5 separate regions of the Homo sapiens genome follow, and all the other regions are linked to region 1. Evidence: promoter capture Hi-C in 16 types of primary human blood cells and fetal thymus (Javierre and others, 2016). All regions are on one chromosome and are shown on one strand. The core of a region is centred on a gene start or on the middle of the fragment in contact, and the rest is flanking DNA. Distances in the headings are between cores, read along the strand shown.

Region 1 (2,814 bases), core at 177-2,676:
CCTTTTGTGGTCCTCTCACTGGAGCCAATTGCCTGAGTCAGCTAAAACTTGGACGCGATGTGCCTCACTGCCATAGCTCACTCACCTTTGCTGCTGAAATGGTTTCCCATCACATTGCTAATAGGTACAACCTGTGAAGGGTTCTAGGTGGGGAAATGGCAACTCAGGAAGAACTCCAAACCTTTAGCTCTCCTAGGATATTAAAATGGCCGTTATGAAGAGGAAGAAGTACTGTGTCATCTATTGTCCTGGGGACCTGTCAACAGGAACAATAGATAGACATCACCAGGGGTGTATTTCTGTTCAACACAAGGAAAAGTTTCTAATTGGAGCTGTCCAGCATGAAATGGACTAAGCAGTGCATTTTCTTTCTCCGATCCTGACTCCACTGTGACGGGCACTGCAGACTAGAGAGATTGTGTCCTAGTATGAATTTAGGTTGGATAAATGATACTTAGGGATAAAGAGAGGAAAGGAATATCAGAATCTCCAAGAAGCTGATACATTTTGAAAAAATATATAAAATGCCACACTTCAGGTTTTCTTGTGTTTAATTTGAAACGTCCAGTAACATTAAAGAACAGCATTTGATTTGCTTAAACAAAGTAGTAACAGCTGAAGTTCCTTCCAAATCACTTTTCTGATTCTCTAAGAGGCTTGCCTATGCCTTGCAGATCTAGCTTCACCTACAAGACATATTCTGTAAGGATCCAGGTTCAGCAAGGTGTCAGAATGTCCTAAGGGTTTCTGTCCCGGCGCTCTGCCTGTCCCGCTTGTGCACAATGCTTTTGCCTATCCCTGTTTCTGCATAGATTTTAGTCTTCCCACCAGGGACGCAACTGTCAGTTTCCTCCGTCTCTCTCGGTTCTATTCCAATCTGCTCATCTCCCCTCCCGTCCCCGCTTTCCCCAAGGACCTACTGAGATTTCGATCCCACAACTTAGTGGGTCCCATCTCACCCAGGCCCCGCAATCCTCGCCTTCTACTTGTCAGCGTTGTACTACACTCTGAGCAGGCACCCCTGTGCTACTCACGGAAGCGGGACCATTAGGTCGGCCATTCCTCCTCACCCCACGACACGCACCCACTGGGTCGGGCCGCCTCCTTGCAGGGAGTCTCAAGGATGGGCTGGCGTCAGGGAGGGGCCCAGGGGGCGCTTTCCCAACACTGGTCGCAGTCATTGTTGGTATAACGGCTAGAGACGCCCAGTGAGTTAGCATGGAGGGCAGTGGGACCGGAAAAAGACGTGGAAAAGCTGCGAAAACGAGCCTTCGAATCATGGACGCGCGGGCCCAGCTCCTCCTCCGAGTTCCTCATCCGGGGCCGTCACTCACATCCGGGGCCCTCACTCACATCCGGGACCCTCATCCGGGGCTCTCACCCACATCCGGGACCCTCATGCCTGGGCGGAGGAGGGGGGGCCCTCATTCGGGACCCTGCACTCCGTCGCCGGAAGTGCCACCGAGAAGCGCCGGCCTCGGGGCTGTCTACAGCGGCCCGGGAGAGGCTGTGGTGGCCCCGAGCGCGAGTGTGTAGGTGACAGGACAGCGGCCAGGCCCGCCCCTCCCCTCGGTGAGTACCCGGAAGCCGTTTTGGGGTCGCAGCGGGGTGGCAGCTTGTTTTGCCTTCACGGGAGTAGAAGGAGGCGGCGTCCGGCCGCGGCCGACGGTAGTTCGCTTCCCCGAGAGTGCGCGGAGGCCCGGGTGCGAGGAGGGCCTGTTTCTCTTCAGCCCTGGTTCATTCACCTCGCGGACCGAGGGCCCCGCCGTCAGGAGCCGGCGACCGTGCCCTGGTGCGAGCTGGTCTGTATGTCCTCACTGGTCCTTTTGGGACTTTGCCTTGGCCTAAAAGGGAAGTGGGAGGAGGGCAGCGCCGGGCAAGGCCTTCTGAGGACCGAGCTGGGAGCCGGGCAGGGGCCCAGGGCGAGGGTGGTGGGAGGGGGACGGCACCCTCATGCGTCCTTGGGCCTGAAGGACGCCGCTCAAACCTGTTCGAACCGCAGCTCTTACCTGCGTTGCTCTCAGGATTCCGGGAAAAGGCCGGTCTAGCTGGTCTGAGTTAGCGAAGGGCCTGACCCCAAAAGTGGAGTTTTATTCGCCAAGCCCGTGTAGTAAATCGGAGTGGGCTGACGGTGTTACCAAGACATTTCCTAGGGGGCCTGCTGTTTTATTTATTTAAATGAGTTTATTTACGTAAACGCGGGCCTGTCACGGTGGTTCACGCCGTAATCCCCGCACTTTGGGAGGCCGAAGTGGGAGGATCGCTTGAGGCCAGGCGTTCGAGTCCAGCCTGGGCAACATAGCGAGACTCCCATCTCTGCTAAAACAAAATTAAAATAAAATGAGCAATCATAACTAGCATTTTTCTCTGGGCACCAACTTGAGCCTCCAAAGACGATTGTAAATTTTAAATATTTTGTTTTGTTTATTTGAGGTGGGCTGTCACGCTGTCATACAGGCTGGAATGCAGTGGCGCAGTCATAGCTCACTGCAGCCTCTACCTCCCAAGCTCAAGCGATTCTCCTGCCTTGGCCTTTGGAGTAGCTGGAACTACAGGCCTGGGCCACCTAATTTTTTTTTTTTTTTTTTTTTTTGTAGGGACGGGGTTTCACCATGTTGTCCAGGACGGTCTGGAACTCCTGAGCTTAAGGGATCCACCCGTCTGTGCCTCCCAAACTGTTGGGATTACAGGCTTGAGCCACCGCACGTGGCCAATTTTAAATATTTTAAAGTTTCCACAGAAAGCTTTACACTATTAAATTGTACCGTGTTAATTTTTTTAATGCCACAAATTCCAAATTAGAGACTCTTCTAT
Region 2 (2,814 bases), core at 95-2,594, 490 kb after region 1:
CATCTGCATAATGGGAACCCTGGTCTCCACAACCCCTTAGTTCAGCGGTCCCCAACCTTTTTTGGCACCAGGAACCAGTTTTGTGGAAGACAGTTTTTTCCATGGATGGCAGGAGGGGGATGGATGGTTTCGTGGTTTCAGGATGATTCAAGCACATTACATTTATTGTGTACTTTATTTCTATTATTATTACATTGTAATATATCATGAAATAATTGTACAACTCATCATAACATAGAATTAGTGGGAGCCCTGAGTTTGTTTTCCTGTAATTAGAGGGTTCCATTGGGGAATTATGGGAGACAGCGACAGATCATCAGGTATTAGATTCTCATAAAGAGTGCACAACCTAGATCCCTCGCATGCACTGTCCACAATAGGGTTTGTGCTCCTGTAAGAATCTAATGCTATGGCTGATCTGACAGGAGGCGGAGCTCAGGCAGTAATTAGAGCAATGGGGAGTGGCTGTAGATACAGGTGAAGCTTTGCTCCTGCAGCTCACCTCCTGCAGTAACGGCCCAGTTCCTAACAGGCCATGGACTGGTATCTGTCTGTGCCCCAAGGGTTGGGGACCCCTGCCTTAGTCATCCCAGACATTCCTTTCTATTGATTATAGGTCTTTAGACAATAACTTTCAGCCAGTTGCCCATTAGAAGATCCTTGAGTTCACCTATGACTTGGAACATCCCCGCTTGGAATTGTCCTGCCTTTCCCACAGAACCAATGTTCATCTTACATGTCTTGATTGGTGTCTTATGTCTCCCTAAATTGTATAAACCCAAGCTGTAGCCCGACCATCATAGGTACATGTTCTTAGGACCTCTTGAGACTGTACCTTGGGCCATTGGTCACTCATATTTGTCTCAAAATAAATGTCTTCAAATATTTTACAGTTTGATTGTTTTCATCAACGAAGTATTAACTCAATCTCTGGCTTCACGGGCCAAGCACAGCGTTCCATGTCCATAAACCTGGACCGAGGAGCTGGGCCCAAGGGTATCCAGTGACCTCGATCCAGGTTTATGGACAAGGAACCCTGTGCTTATCCCAAGGGTACTCAGGGACCTTGGGCTCTGAAGTCCACGAGGGTGACCGAGGTGGCTGCCTCAGCCCATGCCCTCCCTGCCCCAGGGCGTCGGGGTTGGGTGAGAGAACCGCCGCAGCCTTCATCTGGTCTGACCGTCTTCGGTAAAAACAGAAAGAGTCCCTGGCTTTTCATTTTCGGGGTGGACTCAACTCCTCCCTGATGTCCCAAGGGCCAGAGACACAGAGAGGACCTCCCGAATTTCTAGAGGGGCCGCTACGGCCCCGCACTACTTTTCCGCGGGGGCGGGGCTATGACGCACTTCCGGGTGCGCGGTCCCGAGGTACGCGGTGCGGTCTCCCGGTACCCGGAGCGGCTCTGATTCATGGTGAGCCTGCTGGTCGCGGGTTAGCGAGGCGGACAGGAGAGGGAGCCGTGGCTGAATGGTCTGGGGAGGGAGGAGTGGGTTTAGCAGCTGTGGCTTCCGAGGACCCCACCTAGACCGGTCCTAGCAGGGCTGTGGGGAGGAGCTCCTCGTCCCCGCCCAGGACCAGCTGGTGGGGGCGCTGGCTGCCTGGAAAGCCTTTTCTTCCACTTGGGGCTTTAACAAATGAAAGCTGGAAGAACAGATGTTTTGGAAGTTCTTTCGCGTTCCAGAATAGTTTTTTTTGTGCGTTCCCCAAGCCAAGCCGTCTATCAGTCTGACCGTGGCCGCCTTTTTTCCCTTTCTCTGAACTGGAGGTCCGAACGCAAGGCTCATTGATGGCAATACGCCCAAGGTGTTGGAAACCTGTGGGAAGCCGAACCTCATTAGAAGTGTTGGGTAGAATCAAATCCAAGGGAAGAAATAGTCCCCTCGGGCTTTGTTCGGGCTAGAACACACACACAGAATAGGGATCTGCTCATGGTTTAGAAAAACAGTCTTAAAGAACCATGTATAAATAAAAGAGTGTCAGGACAAAGTTGATTTGGGCCAGGCGCGGTGGCTCACGCCTGTAATCCCAGCAGTTCGGGAGGCCGAGGCCGGCGGATCACTTGAGGTCAGGAGTTCGAGACCAGCCTGGCCAAACCCTGTCCCCACGAAAAATACAAAAATTAGCTGGGTGTGGTGGAGCGCGCCTGTAATCCCAGCTACTCAGGAGGCTGAGGCAGGAGAATCGCTTGAACCCACCAGGTGGAGGTTGCACTGAACCGAGATCACGCCACTGCACTCCAGCCTGGGCGACAGAGCAACACTTGGTCTCACAAAAAAAAAGAACGTTGATTTGATGGGTGAGGTACTTGGAAACCCACGAAATCTAAGGAACAGTTGAGCTGTGGAGAGGAAAAGAATTAAGAGGCAAGATAATTGTTTTCAAGTGTTGGAAGGCTGCTATGGAGAAAGTGAGTATTGGTCTTGGACTAACCTAGGATTTTTGAAATGATGCGGAATTTGATTCAGGTTAAAGAATTTGTGTGGCCGGGCGCGGTGGCTCATGCCTGTAATCCAGCACTTTGGGAGGCCGAGGCGAGTGCATCACCTGAGGTCGGGAGTTCGAGACCAGCCTGACCAACATGGAGAAACCCCGTCTCTACTACAAATACAAAATTAGGCGGGCGTGGTGGCACATGCCTGTAAGGAGGCTGAGGCAGGAGAATCGCTTGAACCTGGGAGGCAGAGGTTGCGGTGAGCCGAGATCGCGCCATTGCACTCCAGCCTGGGAAACAAGAGTGAAACTACGTCTCAAAAAAAAAAAAAAAAAAAAAAAAAGGAAGAACTTGTAACAATTAGTGGAATTCTGTGGCTCAAG
Region 3 (2,814 bases), core at 180-2,679, 420 kb after region 1:
AATAAATAATCAAATACTTTTAAAAACTAAAATAACCAAAAAAGTATAATTGGATTGTCTGTAACACAAACGATAAAAGCTTGAAGGGATGGATACCTCATTTTTGATGATGTGATTATTTCACATTGCATGCCTGAATCAAAACCTCTCATGTACCCCATAAATATATACACATACTATGCACCCACAGTTTTTTTTTTAATTTACAAAAAAATCAGTAGACCTTGAGTAAAGTGGATTACTCTCCATAGTGGTGGGCTTCATCCAATCAGTTGAAGGCCTTAAGAGAAAAAGCCTCAGATGTCCCCTAAAGAGGAAAGAATTCTGCCTACAGTCTGCCCTTGGAATCAAGACTAAGACATCAACTCTTCCCTGGGTCTCCAGCCTGCTGGCCGGCTCTGAAGATTTAGGACTTGTTACTCCTCCCAATAGTGTGAGTCAATTTCTTAAAATAAATCTCTACTCTCTCTCTCTTTTGTATACATATATGTAAATCTCTTCCTATGTGTGTGTGTATCCATGTGTATACAGTGTATGTATGTATGTGTACGTACATATATATGTATATGTGTACCACCTATTAGTTCTGTTTCTCTGGAGAACCCTGAGTAATTCAGATTTTGGCACAGAATCAGATTAACATTCCAAAGTGATTGTTATATAACAAACATATAACACCTTTTCTGACAATTTGTAAATGTCATGAATTTTAAACTCACACAACTGAGAAGCCATTCGCTTCCATGTCTTTATCCTGCACATTCTCATGCCACAAACAGCCTCCTTCCCTTATCCTAGGAGTGACTCTTGATCTCCCGGAGCTCCCACTCTCTTCTCTTCCAGCCACTCGCCTTCCAGACCCACTGCAGTGGTGTCTGAGTGTGGGATTTGGGCACGGGTTTCCTTCTAGCACCATCCCTCCAGCCAACCTGCCTTCCCACTTTCCCCTTGGGGCTGCTCTCTCTTTCCCTCAGCGTCAGGCAGGTGTACCCAGCCATCGGAAGGAGGGAAGGAACAGGAGCAGAAGCAGCTCCAGGCATATGGTTCCTACTCCGTCCTGACTGTCTACCCCAAGCAGGTCGCTTGGTCTTTGGAGTCTTTGTTTTCACTGTAAACTAGGGGTTTTAGATTCAGATTCCTGAAGGTCTTATTTCGGGCCAGCGCAGAGGCTCCCTGAATGCTCCTGGAAGTGTGTGAGCTGAGGGAGTTGACAGCCTTGGGCACCCATTCCTGCCGTATGCCAGGGTATCCCAGCTGCATCCAGCCTGTCTCCCAGCCACATGTCCTGTTCCTCACCTCCTTCCAGTCCTCTCCAGCACCCATCCCTTGCTTTCCCCACTCACCATCTTGGTTCTCCTGGGGGACAGCAGGACCCAGAAGCAGCAGCAGAGACAGCAGGACAGGCACCATTCTTACCATTGTGTCTGCTTGGAGGGTTCTGGGCAGGAGGCACAGATATTATCCTGGGTCCTGGGGCCCTGCCCAGGGGAGGTGAATCTACAGGCCAATGGGAGTGCCAGGACGGGCTCCTCCCCTAATAGAGAAAAAAAAATGATACACAAGCTAGGCTGGGCAGAGGTTATGAAGAATGAATCTACACACAGGATATGCAAATTCAGAGCTGAGTCCAGAGTTGATCTCTGGACTGAGGCTTTGTGTGTGCCTGGGGTGGAAGGATGCCAGTGGGTAGGAGGTGCGTGTGATGGGTGGCAAGCGCCTGGGATGTGTCACCCTTCCAGTCTATTGTGACAACCCCTGGGCCAGTAGGGGCATTTGTGTGTTTTTGGACCACACTGTATCCCTGCCTTCCAGAAAAACTCTCAACATGTCCAAGACATGGACCTGGGTAGACCCCAGCTGGGGTGGGACCCTCACTCTCCCACATCCGATCCTGCCAGAGGCTGTGTCTGGAGGACAGTCACATTCCCATCTCTCCCTCCTTCCTTTCTGTGCCTGTGGAATCCCAGCCTTCCATGATGGAAGCAGAAATAGCCGCATCCTCCTTTTGCAGCCTCCCTGGCAACAGAACGAGCCTCCCAAAATGCTGGGATTAAAGGCGTGAGCCACCACGCCCAGCCAAGATAATTTTTAATGCATACAACAAGACTCGTTTTACACAGACGAAGCCAGTTATTTGAAAACCAGGTCTTTCCAGGCACGCTCAGTGTTGATGGGCTATTTGCAGAGAGACCCTCCGAATACAAAGCAACATGCTATTCTAAAGTGACTGGGGCCCGGGTGCGGTGACTCATGCTTGTAATCCCAGCACTTTGGGAGGCTGAGGTGGTTGGATCACCTCAGGTTGAGGTCAGGTACTCGAGACCAGCCTGGGCAACATGATGAAACCTCGTCTCTACTGAAAAAATACAAGAATTAGCTGCGCGTGGTGGCACATGCCTATAATCCCAGCACTCAGGAAGCTGAGGCAGGGGTTTCACCATGTTGGCCAAGCTGGTTTTGAACTCCTGACCTCGTGATCTGCCCGCCTCGGTCTCCCAAAGTGCTGGGTTTACTAGTGTGAGCAACTGTGCCCAGCCTCTCTTTTGGTTAAAGAAACCTACAAAGGGACCTTTTATAGTGACTTCAATTTTATGGAATAATTGTAATGCTCCTAAGGCCGTTGTGCTCCAAAGTCTAGCCGCAGGTATTGTTATTGATTGGGCTCCAAAAGGGCATTATTGGCAAGATTGCTCCAGCAAAAATACCTCATGCTCAGAGTTTAATTATTTGTTAGATTATGTAGAGGATGGATGGCAGTCATACAGGCTGAGACAATGGGTGTCCCCTTACCTATTTAAATGGATGGATGCAGGC
Region 4 (2,814 bases), core at 147-2,646, 340 kb after region 1:
GTCTCGCTGTTGCCCATGCTGGAGTGCAGTGGTGCAATCACAGCTCACTGCGGCCTCAACCTCCTGGGCTTAAGCCATCCTCCCGCCGTGGCCTCCCAAGTAACTGGGACTACAGGCACACACCAGCACACTAATTATTTTATTTTTTGTAGAGACAGGGTCTCACTATGTTGCCCAGGCTGGCCTCAAACTCCTGGCCTCAAGCAATCCTCCTAACTCAGCCTCCCAAAGAATTGGGATTACAGATGTGAGCCACCACACCCAGCCAGTGTATAAGATTTAATATAAGGAACTGGCTTGTGTGATTATTGCTACTGACAAGTCCGAATCTGCTGTGTGAGTTGGCAGGCTCAAGACCCAGATAGAGCCAGCGTTCTAGTTGGAAGGCCATTAGGCAGGAAGAGCCAATGCTGCAGTGAAGGCCAAGGTAGTATGCTTTAGAAATCCATCAGAAAGGTCAAGCCTTTTTTTTCTATTCAAGCCTTCAACTGATTAGATGAGGCCCACCCACATTATGAAGGGCAGTCTACACAGGCTTACTGACTTAAATGTTAATCTTATCCAAAATCACCCTCAAAAAAACACCCAAAATAATTTTTGACCAATATCTGGGCACTCTGTGGCCCAGTCAAGTTGATGTATAAACTTACCATCGCAATTCCTTTTTAAAGGAATAAATAATGACAATAATATATATTTATTCGTGTCATTACCATTTCTGGTGCTCTTTTATTCCTTTGTGTAGAGAGATTTCCATCTGGCATTTTCCTTCTGTCTGAAGGACTTCCTTTAAGACTTCCTTTCTTGAAGTGTCAGTCTGCTGTAAACTCTTTCTTTTAAGCTTTAGTTTACCTCCAAACTTATTTATTTCACCTTTGTTTTTGAAGGATATTTTTTGCCAGTTCTAGAACTCTAGGTTAACAGTTTTTTTCTTTCAGGACTTTAAAGAGTTTGCTTACTGGCATTGTTTCCAATGAGAAGTGTAATGTCAACTTCGTCTTTGTTCCACTGCAAGTAACTATCCTCTCCCCTGGTTGCATTTAAGATTTTCTTTTTAACACTGGTTTCCAGCAAGTTATGATGAGCCTTGGCATATTTTTCTTCATATTTCTCATACTCAGGGTTTGTTGAGCATCTTGGATCTGTGGACTTAGTTTTTATTATATTCAGAAAATCTTTGGCCATTATGTCTTCAAGTATTTTTCCTATTCCATCTCCCTCCCCACTCCTCTCTTTCAGGGACGCCAATCACCATAGATAATAAGGCTGCATAAAGTTGTCCCACAGGTCACTGATGCTCTTTGTGTTTTTGTAAATTGTTTTATTCTGTGTATGTTTCATTTTTTTGTAGTTTCCATTGCTCTGTCTTCAAGTTCACCAATTTTTTCTTTTGTAATATTTAATCAACTATTAATCCCATCCAGTGCATTCTTCGCCTTAATCACATTTTTCATCTTTAAAACTTTGATCTGGTCTCTATGTACCTCTTTACAGAATACACTCATAATAAATGTTTTAAAGTCCTTCCATGCTTATTCTAACATCTGTGTCAATTCTAGGTCAGTTTCAGTTGATTATTTTCCTCCATTATGGGTCACTGCTTTCCTATCTTTTTGCATGCATATTTGACTGGATGCCAGACATTGTGAATTTATATTGTTAGGTGCTCTTTTTTTGTTTATTTCTACCAATTTTCTAGGGCTTTATCCTGGGATGCAGTTAAGTTAGTTGGAAAGAGTTTGACCCCTTTGGGTCTTGCTTTCATGATTTGTAAGGTGGGTGTGGAGCAGCACCCAGTCAAGGGCTAAATATTTTCTGCTAATGAGGCAAGATTTTCCTGAGTACGCTACTCAGTGCCCGTGAACTACGAGTTTTCTGGTGTGGCTGATAGGAACTGGCACTGTTCCTGGCCCTGTGTGAGCACCAGGAACCGTTCCCTCTAATCGTTTTAGAAGCTTCTATCTCCAGCCTTGAGTAGATTTTCACAGGCATGTGCTGATCAGAACTCTGCCAAACAACTAGGAAGCTCCTCCATAGATGGCGAGGGTTCTCTCTGTGTCCGGCTCTCTCCGCTCCAGGATACTGCCCAGTACTTTGCGAACTCTCACTACTTTGTTCTCCGTGAACTCCCAGGTCTATTCCTCAACTCAGCAAGTCTCCCTGGCTCTACCTCAGTTACCTCAGCCTTACATGGTCTGGAAACTCCCTCAGGCAGAGGGTAGGGCAATCATAGGCTGACCTCATTTGTTTCACATTTCTCAGGAATCACCGTCCTTCACTGCCTGACGTCTGGTGCTTTGAAAACGGTTGTTTCACATATTGTGCCTGTTTTGTTTTTGTGTTTTTATTTTAGTTGCTGCAGACAAGAAAACAACTCGTTTATTTACTCCATTTTGGCTAGAAGTGAACACCCACAACATGGTTCTTTTTAGTTTGTTTGTTTTTTGAGACAGAGTCTCACTCTATCGCCCAGTCTGGAGTGCAGTGGATACAATCTCAGCTCACTGCAACCTCCACCTCCCAGGTTCAAGCGATTCTCCTGCCTCAGCCTCCCGAGTAGCTGGGATTACAGGTGCACACCACTATGCTCAGCTAATTTTTGTATTTTAGTAGAGACAGGGTTTCACCATGTTGGCCAGGCTGGTCTCGAACTCCTGACCTCAAATGATCCGCCTGCCTCGACCTCCCAAAGTGCTGGGATTACAGACATGAGCCTTCGTGCCCGGCCTACAACATGGTTCTTAATCAAACATGTGCACATAAGAATCACCAGCACAGCTTCTAGAGCATGTACCTGCCTTGGTGCCTCCCTGG
Region 5 (2,814 bases), core at 111-2,610, 280 kb after region 1:
TTGTTTCTTCTGCCAGGGTCTTTGGAATTTTGACAGAGAATGTAATGAAAAATACGGAGAAATGTGGGGGTGAGTATTCTGGAAACTTGCATTGGATAGAGCTGTTGCTATGCTGAGTTATTTTACTGCAGAGAGAACAATCTCAGCCCAGATTTTGTTTGGATAATGCTATTGTCAACCTAAGTAACAAACAGAGAGAGGCTATCTAAAAGAAAAAGATGATCTGGGAATTGAGCATTGCAAGGGGAATATGCGTGTCATAGGAAACTCCATGCATATTCAGTATGTGAACAAAAATAAAATCTTTGAGACCCTAAACTCACTATGACAAAGGGAAAATCGAGCTTGAGAATTAAGTCATACCTTACTGCCTTCCTTTTTTCCCCAGACAGATAGCTGTAATTTCACAACCCTGGGTAATAGCTTCATACATAAGCCACATTCCCACAACAATAGCAATGTGGCATCACTCGTCTGGGGTAATACCCGAGGTTTGTTGTCCCACAGATATAGGGGGTCTCCCTATAGTGGACGCACAAAGAATAAGGTTAAGAGCAGAGGTTGGATAGGTGAAAGAAAGAGAAAAGCTCTCTCCTGCCGAGAGAGGGGGCCCCCAGTGGGTCTTCTGACCTGCGGTAAAGTGCAGGAGGTTTTATAGATGAGCTTGAGGAGGCAGTGTCTGATTTACATAGGGCATGAAAGATTGGTTGGACCAGGTGTGTCATTTGCATAGCACATAAAAAACTGGTTAGGACTAGGTGTACTGTTTGCATAACATGTGAAGAAGTTGGCTGCCCCACCCTAATCTTTTATTATGCAGATGGTTCTCTTCCTGGCTGGCACCATGTTGCCTGCTTTTTTTACTGTAAATGGGGTGACAAAGATAAGGGAAGATGGGGCCTCCATGTTGAACATAACCAGCTTCCAAGGTAGCCCTTTTCTATTGGCACAGCTGCCAGCATTTACCCGTGCAAGCTTCCAGCTTGCTTATCGATGTCTGCAGCTTGATTTTTTCAGGCTGCTCTTTGTTAGAAAAGAAATGATTTGGGGGGCTGCTTTTTGTTAAAAGGGAAGCTTTGCTGAGGACCCCTTTGCCCTCACTATCTGCCTAAATAATTTTTTTCTGGCTCCTATATCAATAGAAGGCTACATATCTTTCTGGATGGTTTCCCTCACAAGTTGCTCACATGGAATTCTATACATCTGCCCTATAAACCAGCCCTGTCATTGAGTTCTGTTGACTCACACCTTGATCATGTAAATTACCAGCTTATCACAGGTACAGAATAAGGACAAGACCAGAAATCATCCCTCCACCTACCTTGAGATGAATATGTAACTGACTTTTCCTCTACTCTTTCTTTTCACATGTATATCTCATGTAAAATGTAGATTTTCTGAGTACAACATGAATGCATAATTGATTTTTTCCTCTACTCTGTCTTTTCACATGTAAAGTGCAGGTTCGATGAGAGCTAATTGGTGCCTTACACAAATGTAATCATTTGCCACACTGCCTACTCTTTCCCCCCTTTTTTCCTTCCTGCTGGTTCTTTCCTCTTTAAATTCGGAAGTTCCCAAAACCCTCTTTGGAAAAACACAGGTCGCAGCTACCCCTGTGGCTCATGTGTTTCCAGGTGTCCCCTCAAGCTTTGACTCAATAAACCTCTATCAATCAAGACACCTGCCTCAGTCACTTTTTGGTTAACACCTTGGTAACCACAATGGGATTCACTGAGGGCAGTTTGGCCCTCAGCCTGCAGAAATTTTCCCATCAGTGTGATAGAACCAGCTAGAGCTTTTTATCACTCTAACCAATTGGCTCATGTGCTGAGGTCTGGGAGCTTCTCCTTCTAGAGATCCTTGATCTCCCATAAAATGTTGCTTGAGACCTGAATTTTCTTCTGCCATAGAGCTCCTTTCTGGGAGTTTTTACTTACTTCCAACAAGGAAGGTGAGTTTTCTGCTTCCATAATGATGAACAGTTTTTAGCTTGAGATCCGTCTCCACATAAGGAGCCGATGTGGCTTTTCATTTTGGAATTTGGTAGCTGAGGGTCAAGGTTTATTGTCAGCTAGCTATAACTTCCCCTTATGCTTGGAGATCTTGACCCTATGTAAATTGTGTGATAACTTTCTGTTTTGAGTTTCAATCTACCTTCCACTAAGTTTTACCAATTCGTGGCCCCCTCTAATGTTTACTGGAATGCCCACAGCTACAAAATGTCAATTTTCCCCTCTAGAAACCCCAGCCAGTTAAGAGAAATCAATATGCAACTCAAAATATATTTCTTTGACACTTTTCTTTTTTTGAGATGGAGTCTTGCTCTTGTCACCCAGGCTGGAGTGCAATGGGGTGATCTCGGCTTACTAAAACTTCCACCTCCCAGGGTCAAGCAATTCCCCTGCCTCAGCCTCCTGAGTAGCTGGGATTATAGGCACTCACTACCATGCCCAGCTAATTTTTGTATTTTTAGTAGAGACAGGGTTTCCCCATGTTTGCCAGCTGGTCTCAAACTCCTGACCTCAGGTGATCTGCCCGCCTTGGCCTCCCAAAGTGCTGGTATTACAGGCATGAGCCACTGCACCCGGCCTACACATTTTTTTTAATTGAGATGGAGTCTCACTCTGTTACCCAGGTTGGTGCAGTGGCACCATCTTGGCTCACTGTAGCCTCTGCCTCCCAGTGATCCTGCCACCTCAGCCTCCCAACTTTGACACATTTTAATGTGGCCTTACCAGAACTTCCCTTGTCTAAATCTAGGGAAGAGTAGAAAAGGATCTGACACATACTCTGAGGGCTACTACCTACGAG

The links. The method cuts DNA at HindIII sites, captures the fragments that hold promoters and counts their contacts. A CHiCAGO score of 5 or more calls a contact.
Region 2: a contact is called between the fragment with the promoter of ZSCAN21 here and the fragment with the promoter of ZNF655 in region 1, in 1 of 17 cell types (M1 macrophages). The highest score is 7.6, in M1 macrophages.
Region 3: the fragment with the promoter of AZGP1 here is called in contact with the fragment with the promoter of ZNF655 in region 1 in 1 of 17 cell types (M2 macrophages); the score reaches 5.2 in M2 macrophages.
Region 4: a contact is called between a fragment that was not itself captured here and the fragment with the promoter of ZNF655 in region 1, in 1 of 17 cell types (erythroblasts). The highest score is 7.0, in erythroblasts.
Region 5: a contact is called between a fragment that was not itself captured here and the fragment with the promoter of ZNF655 in region 1, in 1 of 17 cell types (erythroblasts). The highest score is 6.4, in erythroblasts.

Annotation. Positions count from the first base shown.
Region 1 is chr7:99,557,216-99,560,029 of GRCh38, forward strand. It overlaps ZNF655 (zinc finger protein 655), which reads left to right and starts at 1,427. Exons shown (of 3, transcript NM_138494.3): 1 at 1,427-1,572. It also overlaps a transcript of FAM200A not described here. RefSeq lists enhancers at 1,072-1,201, 1,232-1,501. The HindIII fragment of the contact is 4,019 bases long and covers 1-2,742 here.
Region 2 is chr7:100,048,430-100,051,243 of GRCh38, forward strand. ZSCAN21 (zinc finger and SCAN domain containing 21) reads left to right here and starts at 1,345. Exons shown (of 4, transcript NM_145914.3): 1 at 1,345-1,412. RefSeq lists an enhancer at 1,247-1,866. The HindIII fragment of the contact is 10,625 bases long and covers 482-2,814 here.
Region 3 is chr7:99,974,602-99,977,415 of GRCh38, forward strand. It overlaps AZGP1 (alpha-2-glycoprotein 1, zinc-binding), which reads right to left and starts at 1,430. Exons shown (of 4, transcript NM_001185.4): 1 at 1,344-1,430. The coding sequence starts at 1,419. The HindIII fragment of the contact is 13,516 bases long and covers 78-2,814 here.
Region 4 is chr7:99,899,819-99,902,632 of GRCh38, forward strand. The region is part of intron 5 of TRIM4 (tripartite motif containing 4); the gene reads right to left. Among named protein-coding and RNA genes, the nearest start is that of TRIM4, 18 kb to the right of the region's middle. The HindIII fragment of the contact is 1,114 bases long and covers 840-1,953 here.
Region 5 is chr7:99,839,104-99,841,917 of GRCh38, forward strand. CYP3A43 (cytochrome P450 family 3 subfamily A member 43) reads left to right here. Exons shown (of 13, transcript NM_057095.3): 3 at 17-69. Among named protein-coding and RNA genes, the nearest start is that of CYP3A43, 12 kb to the left of the region's middle. The HindIII fragment of the contact is 576 bases long and covers 1,073-1,648 here.